Linked DNA regions of Homo sapiens: region 2 is linked to region 1. The links are contacts of gene promoters, found by promoter capture Hi-C in human tissues and cell types (Jung and others, 2019). All regions are on one chromosome and are shown on one strand. Each heading gives the region's core, a stretch centred on a gene start or on the middle of the fragment in contact. The rest is flanking DNA. Distances are from core to core; before and after follow the strand shown.

The links. The method cuts DNA at HindIII sites, captures the fragments that hold promoters and counts their contacts. A contact is called where the count stands out against the background at its distance.
Region 2: a fragment that was not itself captured here is called in contact with the fragment with the promoter of FEZ1 in region 1 in 2 of the 25 tissues and cell types used here (dorsolateral prefrontal cortex and hippocampus).

What each region holds. Positions count from the first base shown.
Region 1 is chr11:125,494,885-125,498,219 of GRCh38, reverse strand. It overlaps FEZ1 (fasciculation and elongation protein zeta 1), which reads left to right and starts at 1,955. Exons shown (of 10, transcript NM_005103.5): 1 at 1,955-2,099. LOC403312 (putative uncharacterized protein MGC39545) reads right to left here and starts at 3,006. Exons shown (of 2, transcript NR_164146.1): 1 at 2,605-3,006; 2 at 1-1,712. RefSeq lists a silencer at 1,768-2,017 and enhancers at 1,892-2,393, 2,394-2,897. The HindIII fragment of the contact is 6,934 bases long and covers 1-3,335 here.
Region 2 is chr11:124,941,644-124,944,989 of GRCh38, reverse strand. LOC107984406 (a long non-coding RNA gene) reads right to left here. Exons shown (of 2, transcript XR_001748429.3): 2 at 1,400-1,590. Among named protein-coding and RNA genes, the nearest start is that of HEPACAM, 7.3 kb to the right of the region's middle. The HindIII fragment of the contact is 2,603 bases long and covers 1-2,572 here.

The DNA of each region.
Region 1 (3,335 bases), core at 706-3,205:
CATATATGGGACATCTATATGAGACATATATATGGGACATCTATATGAGACGTATATATGGGACATCTATATGAGACATATATATGACATATATATGTGTGTGTGTATATATATACACACATACATACATATAGTGCCTTCTAATAAACCTGGAAGTACTTTACTCATATTCACTCCTTTAATCCCACAACAGGCCACAATAGAGTGGGGCACTATTATTTTCTTTCTTTTTTTTTTTTTTGAGTCGGAGTCTCGCTCTGTCACCCAGGCTGGAGTGCAGTGGCGCAATCTCGGCTCACTCCAAGCTCCGCCTCCTGGGTGCACGCCATTCTCAGCCTCCCGAGTAATTGGGACTACAGGCGCCCGCCACCACGCACAGCTGATTTTTTGTATTTTTGGTGGAGATGGGGTTTCACCGTGTTAGCCAGGATGGTCTCGATCTCCTGACCTCGTGATCCGCCCGCCTCGGCCTCCCAAAGTGCTGGGATTACAGGCGTGAGCCACCGCGCCCGGCGGGCACTATTATTTTCTTCATTTTACAGATGAGGAAATGAGCCACAGGGAAGTTAACTAACCCAAGGTCACAAAACTGGGCATGATCCCAAGAAAGGAGATCTAGGGATCTTTTAACCAGCTACTCTTTGTGATTTATTTATTTATTTATTTACTTTTGAGACAAGGTCTTGCTGTCGCCCAGGCTGGAGTGCAGCTTCAACCTCTTGGGCTCAAGCGATCCTCCCACCTCATCCTCCAGTGTAGCTGGGGCTACCAGGATGGGCTACCAGGATGGGCCCACCATGCCTGGCTAATTTTTTTTTTTTTATAGAGATGGGGTCTCACTATGTTGCCTAGGCTGGTCTTGAACTCCTGGCCTCAAGTGATCCTCCTGCCTCAGCTTTCCAACATGTTGGGATTATAGGTGTGAGCCACCGTGCCTGGCCTTATGATTTCTTACAGGAAGACATCCTCTGTCTATTGCTCCCACAAAGGCAAATAGGCCAACGCTTCTTCTCATCTCATTGGGACATTATTCCTGTTTCCATCCTTCTCATGGTTGAAATGTCTGTGGAATGAATGCATAAACGAGCAAAAGAGACGCTCCCTGCCCCTTCCAGTTGAAGTCCTCAGTTCAGCCCAGAGGTACTTTGCCATCAGACAAAAGTACTTGGGGTTCTCCAAGCCGACATGCTTTTTCCAGTGCCTTCCTTCGATAATTACAGTTCTTGTGCTCTTAGTTGTGTGTATTCGTGAATTATTAGATTTTTTATTGACAACTTCTATAAGCACAGGCCTATGCACAGTAGACAAGATAAATTAATAATTTTTCACAAGACTCCAGGGACCCTTCTCATTTCAGCCTCTTGAATTTTCCTGTATTATCTCAAGTCCTCCTGGGCCTGAAACCTTCTCACTCAGATTTTTCAGCTGGATCCAGCTCCCACCCAGCATCTTTGGGCGAGAAAAGCTCTCCTGCCGGCCTCCTCATTTTTGGCTTGAGGTCCGAACCCAGTTGGAGCTGGGAGACGTCGCTGGGCCTGCCCGCCTCAGCCTCCAGTAGAGGAGAATGGGAAACTCGGAAAGTCCAAAAGGGTCTTTGAGTGTGTCTGCCGGCATCCGCCAGCAGCCATCGCCTGCATTTTATCCAGAAACTAGTGTCAGGCTTTGCGAGGTATCCATATTGGTAGTTATTGCACGCTTTCATCTTGGAGTTTCTGAATATTCATGAGGGAAGCAGAAAGGCCAATGTTAAAGAGGAGAGAAACAGAAATGCATAAATATTAATAAAGGCAAGCCCACGTGCTCGGAGGAAGGCTATGAATGTTAACGAGGGGATGACGTCCAGCTCCCGCGCGTGCCAGTTGGGTGGGTGCCCGAGCGCGGGCGCGCCCCCGGAGCCCGGGCACGAGCGCGGGGAAGGGGTGGGGTGGAGGCGGGAGCGGAGCCGGGCGCCGCCGGAGCTGCGCGGGGAGCGCTCGCTGGCTGGCTGGCTGGCTGGCTCTCCGCTGCGCTGCGCTGCGCTCCGGCCGCTCCCGCGGCCCGTGGATGGGGGTGTCCGGCTGAGCCCCGGGATCCGCCTCCCTCCGCCAGGACCCGCACAGGTGCCGTCGCGGGGGTTGACTTTAGTTAGGACCCGACTCACTGCTGGGGGTGGGGTCTGGTGGGGGTGGTAAGGAGGCCCCGGGATTCTCTGACAGGACGGTCTGGGGTCGCCGCAGCTCCCCTCACCTGGTCCCATTCTGGGATTAGAAAGGAACAACGGGAGGCCGTCGCCTTCCTGCCCAGCCCTTCAGGGAGCGCAGCTGGGACGCCGCGCCAGGCCCTGGAGATGTGGGATGATGGGCACTTCCAGTATCATCTCAGCATCGGCCCTCCAGCCAGGCCTGGTGTGTGTGTGTGTGTGTGTGTGTGTGTGTGTGTGTCCGCGTGTGTGTGCCCGCGTGTGTGCGCGCGTGTGAAGGCAGGGCGGCGAGGTATGGGGGCTGGGGGAAGAAGGGAACGCCGCCCGATCGCGCTGGGGCAGTGGGTCGGTACCTCGTCCCGGGACCGTTATCTGGTCCAGTCACCGTAAACGCCCCAAGATCATCTTTGTCCCTAAAAACTTACCCCCGACCCCGCTCGTGCCCCTCCCCAGAGTGCGGAGCCTTCCCCAGACCGCGCATTCCTGCAGTGTCAGAACCGCTGGCAGCGGCCGCAGACGCCGGGAGAGCGATTGTTTTACTACAGACGGGCGGGAGAAGGGACCGGGGCGGCTGCGCGGTGGCGGGGCGCGCTGCCGTCGGGTGGGCCCCGGGCTCTGGAATGCGGGGAGCAGTGTTTGACGGCGTCGAGGAGGTATCACAGCCCGCTCTTCTTCCCTTTTGCCTATCCCTTCTCTCCTCGCCGCTAGGCATCCCCGACTCTCATCCCTCTCCCGTGTCCGGGCTTGTTTGGCCGGAAGGGCAGTGGAGTGTGTATGCGGCCTGCACGGGATGAGTCCGGCTTCCTCAGAGTGCCAGCCATTGTGCTGCCTGGAGGAGGCTTTCTTTACCCCACCGGACTGGGGGGAGGAGGGGGATCTGAGATGGAGGTGAATGGAGCAGCGGGAGGAGGGGGAGGGGAGCAAGCAGAACCGCGAAGGGGTTGCTGATCCATATGCAACGAAATACTTTTTCTGTCAAAATGTGCACAAACATGCACACTGGGTGGGTTCTGCGGAGGAGCAGTGGGAAATCTGAAGGTGGATCAGTGCAGGGTAGGTTTTAGGGACGGATATGGGGGACGAGGCACGGAATCAGTTGATCTATGGACCAAGTGATGGGAAGAAGGAGATGGAATGGGGCTTGTGTGGAGGTGCC
Region 2 (3,346 bases), core at 22-2,521, 550 kb after region 1:
CATATGTAAAATATATCATGCATAATAGACTTTCAGTAAATGCTTGCTAACTTTTTTTTAGGAAGCAAGATAGAGTCATAAAACCTTAGAAGATTTTGATTTGTCTTCCCAGCATCCCTTCTCCCGCTTTTTCTAGTAATGGCCCCACCTGTGACTGTGGGGTTAAGTACATGGCCCAGCCTGGGATAGTGTTCTAGTCTCCTTGCTACAGTGATTGATCCAGAGCTGTGCATGTGACCTAAGCCATGGCCTTTTGCCAAGATTATTTTTTAACTAGTTCCATCAAGAGTCTTCTTCTCCTGCCCGCATGACAAGCTGCACTGTCCAATATGTTAACCACTAGATACATGTGTTAAGTTTAATTACAATTAAATGAAATTTATAATGTATTTCCTCAGTCCCACTAGCCACACGGGGCTAATTAATGGCTACTATATTTGACAGCACAGATATAAAATACTGTCTTATTTCCAATTATTCCTGCTCCCTGAAAAATTTTGTTACATAATGCAAGAAATTCTTCCCTTTTTGCTTCAGATAGTTCCAGTTGAACTTCAGTCACTTACAATCAAATGATCTTGACAAATCACATTCCTTAGTTTGTCGGGCCACAAACCAGATGCAGAATCTTGGAGGCCTGACTTTGGCATGGATCTTTAAACTAGACAAAGCCAAATCCTGTAAGTACTGCAACAAGGGGAAAATTGGGGGCTGTCTTCAAGACACCTCTGCTGACAACTTAGCTAGGGCCTCCTTTTAAGAAATGTGGTCCCTCCCCATATTGAATCCTGTGTATCACAAATCTATCTTCTTAGTGTCCCTGGCCTAACCTGTGGGGGCCCAGTTTCCCTTGCTTACTAAGCTTTTTTTTTTTTTTATGGTCCTGTCACCTGCCTGATCCCTTTTCTCACATCTTGTCTCAGAACTCTCCTTTTCCTACTTAGTTTTTACTTCTGGGCCTGGCTGAAGGCAACCTCTTTCAGGGGTACAGCATTATGAACACTAGACAGGAAGCACAGCTGAGTCTAAGCTGTGCCAACTTGCAAATGTGAAGGAAACCTCTTTCAGGGGTACAGCATTATGAACATTAGACAGGAAGCACAGTTGAGTCTAGGCTGTGCCAACTTGTAAAATGTGTGACTTGGAGCAGGTTATTTAACCTCTCTAAGCTTCATGATCCTCCTTGAAAAATGGAAAAAAAAATCCCACTGCACAGCGTTGTTAGAAGGCTAAATAAAATAATATTCTAAAAGATAATTTGTAAAGGGCAATGCAAATGTTTTATCAATTATACTTGCTTATAGATGTAGGTGCAGCCTTCCCAGCTATAATATATTTCAGCTCCTAGACAGGGATCCAGGGATGGTGTCGTCTATTACTTTTGAATGTGCCGCCTTCCTCCTCTTCCACATCCCACCACTTTTATTAATGTTTGGAACATAGAGTGTTCTTCACACAGTAGGCAATTATCAGATGCTGGCCAGCTGATTCCCATTTCTGAGCCTCCCTCTTTGGTAGGAGGGTGAACGACGGCAGAGGGCAGCGAATCCTTCCCCTGACACGGTTGGTGGGTGGACACCATCTGAGGATCTAGGAGAAGGGAAACAGTGAAGGCTTTCATGAGTTGGGGTGTAATTTGTGGCTTCCCCATGATTTTTCAACCTGTTTGTATTTAAGCACTGAAGCTTTACAAGAACAGAACTCCAGAGATATTCTCCAGAATGTCCTTGCTGCATCTTAAATAGGTCAGCAAAAGCTGGATCTTTCCAGCCCTTTAATACCAATTAATTTCTCCTCTTTGTTCCTCTGGAGAGTGGCTGAATAGAGCACGTTTAGCAACCATGGACACAAGCCTGAGTCCCTCTCACTTTCTGAGGAGGCCGGAATTCTATTCAAAAATCAAATATTTACTCTCAGTATAAAAGACTTTGATGTTCTCCTGTTTTCAGCAGAGAAATGGGAGCCCCTCCTTGCTGCCCTTCCAAAATTTACCCAGGACCCCATGCCACTCCCAGGATCATGTATTTCTCCCAACAAACTCCACATCTTGTGGAGACACCATATCTCTGCAGAACCCTTTTCATCTGAGTAACTCTTCATGTTTACAGAAATCTGCAGCCAGCAAAACCAATTTCAGGATGAAGGAGCCTTTTGACTCCATTTCTACTTTCTATTTGATGTTTTTCTGAGGCCCCCAGAGTAGGGCCACCTAGGAGAACTTTAGAAAGAGAACGAATAGAAAAGAAAATGTTCTTGGGGAGGGCCATTCCTCACTGTCCAGGCATACAGAAAGCTTGTTTTGTTCCGAAGGGAGCTAGCTAATCTGTCTCTTATTCAGAGCTTGCTGTAGGAGCTGGGCCCTGCCTCCTCTCAACACAAAGCCTCATACAATCTCGTTGTTTCCCAGGCAATGTGCTGCAGCTCTACAAATTCTCTGGCTGGTGTTTGCCTCCTGCGTCCTCTGTCCATTAGGAGAAATCAAACTTATGGTAGAGACAACACCAGTACCATTTGCATATAGATTTATACAACAAAAAATAAAAATGAAAATAACTTCATCACTAGGCCAGGCACAGTGGCTCATACCTGTAATCCCAGCAGTTTGGGAGGCCGAGGTGGGTGGATCACGAGGTCAGGAGTTCAAGACCAGCCTGGCCAAGATGGTGAAACCCTCCAACCTGGGTGACAGAGTGAGACTCCATCTCAAAAAAAAAAAAAAAAAAAGAAAGAAAGAAAGAAAGAAAGAAAGAAAGAAAATACCTTCACCAATACTAGAAGGCCCAAGGAGTGGGGAGAGAGGGCTGCTTCATATCCAGAGCTTAGTCAGGGAGTAGGTCCTGGAGGGTAAAAGCTTATACCAGGAGGAGGAATTCCTACTGGTGCATTAGGGGTTGGTCAAACCCTAAGCTTTTTTGGTGATCTGTCTGGGATCCAATCCAAATTTTGTCACTTAACAGCTATATGACTTCAACAAGCTGCTGACCTCTCAGAAGTTTGTTTTCTTGTTTGTAAGATGGGGTTGGAAGAAATAAATAAGCAAATATCTATATATATAGTGGTTGACACAGTCAAATGCAGAGTAGCACTTTCTCTCTTTCTCTCTCTCTCACACGCACACATATATATATAGAGAGAGAGAGCAGTTAGAAGAGGGAGGTAAGAAGCCTCAGAAATTAATATCTCCTTACCCCTCAGAAGCAGCCCCTTAGCTCATATCTGATGGCAGTTGGTGGATAAATACCCCAGCTCCCTATCCCCTAGGAGGCATATTCTTTACTACCACCTAGGGCTCCCAAGAGGAATAAGCTCTAGCTGCCCACAATAGTGATTTGCTTCATATGCAGCC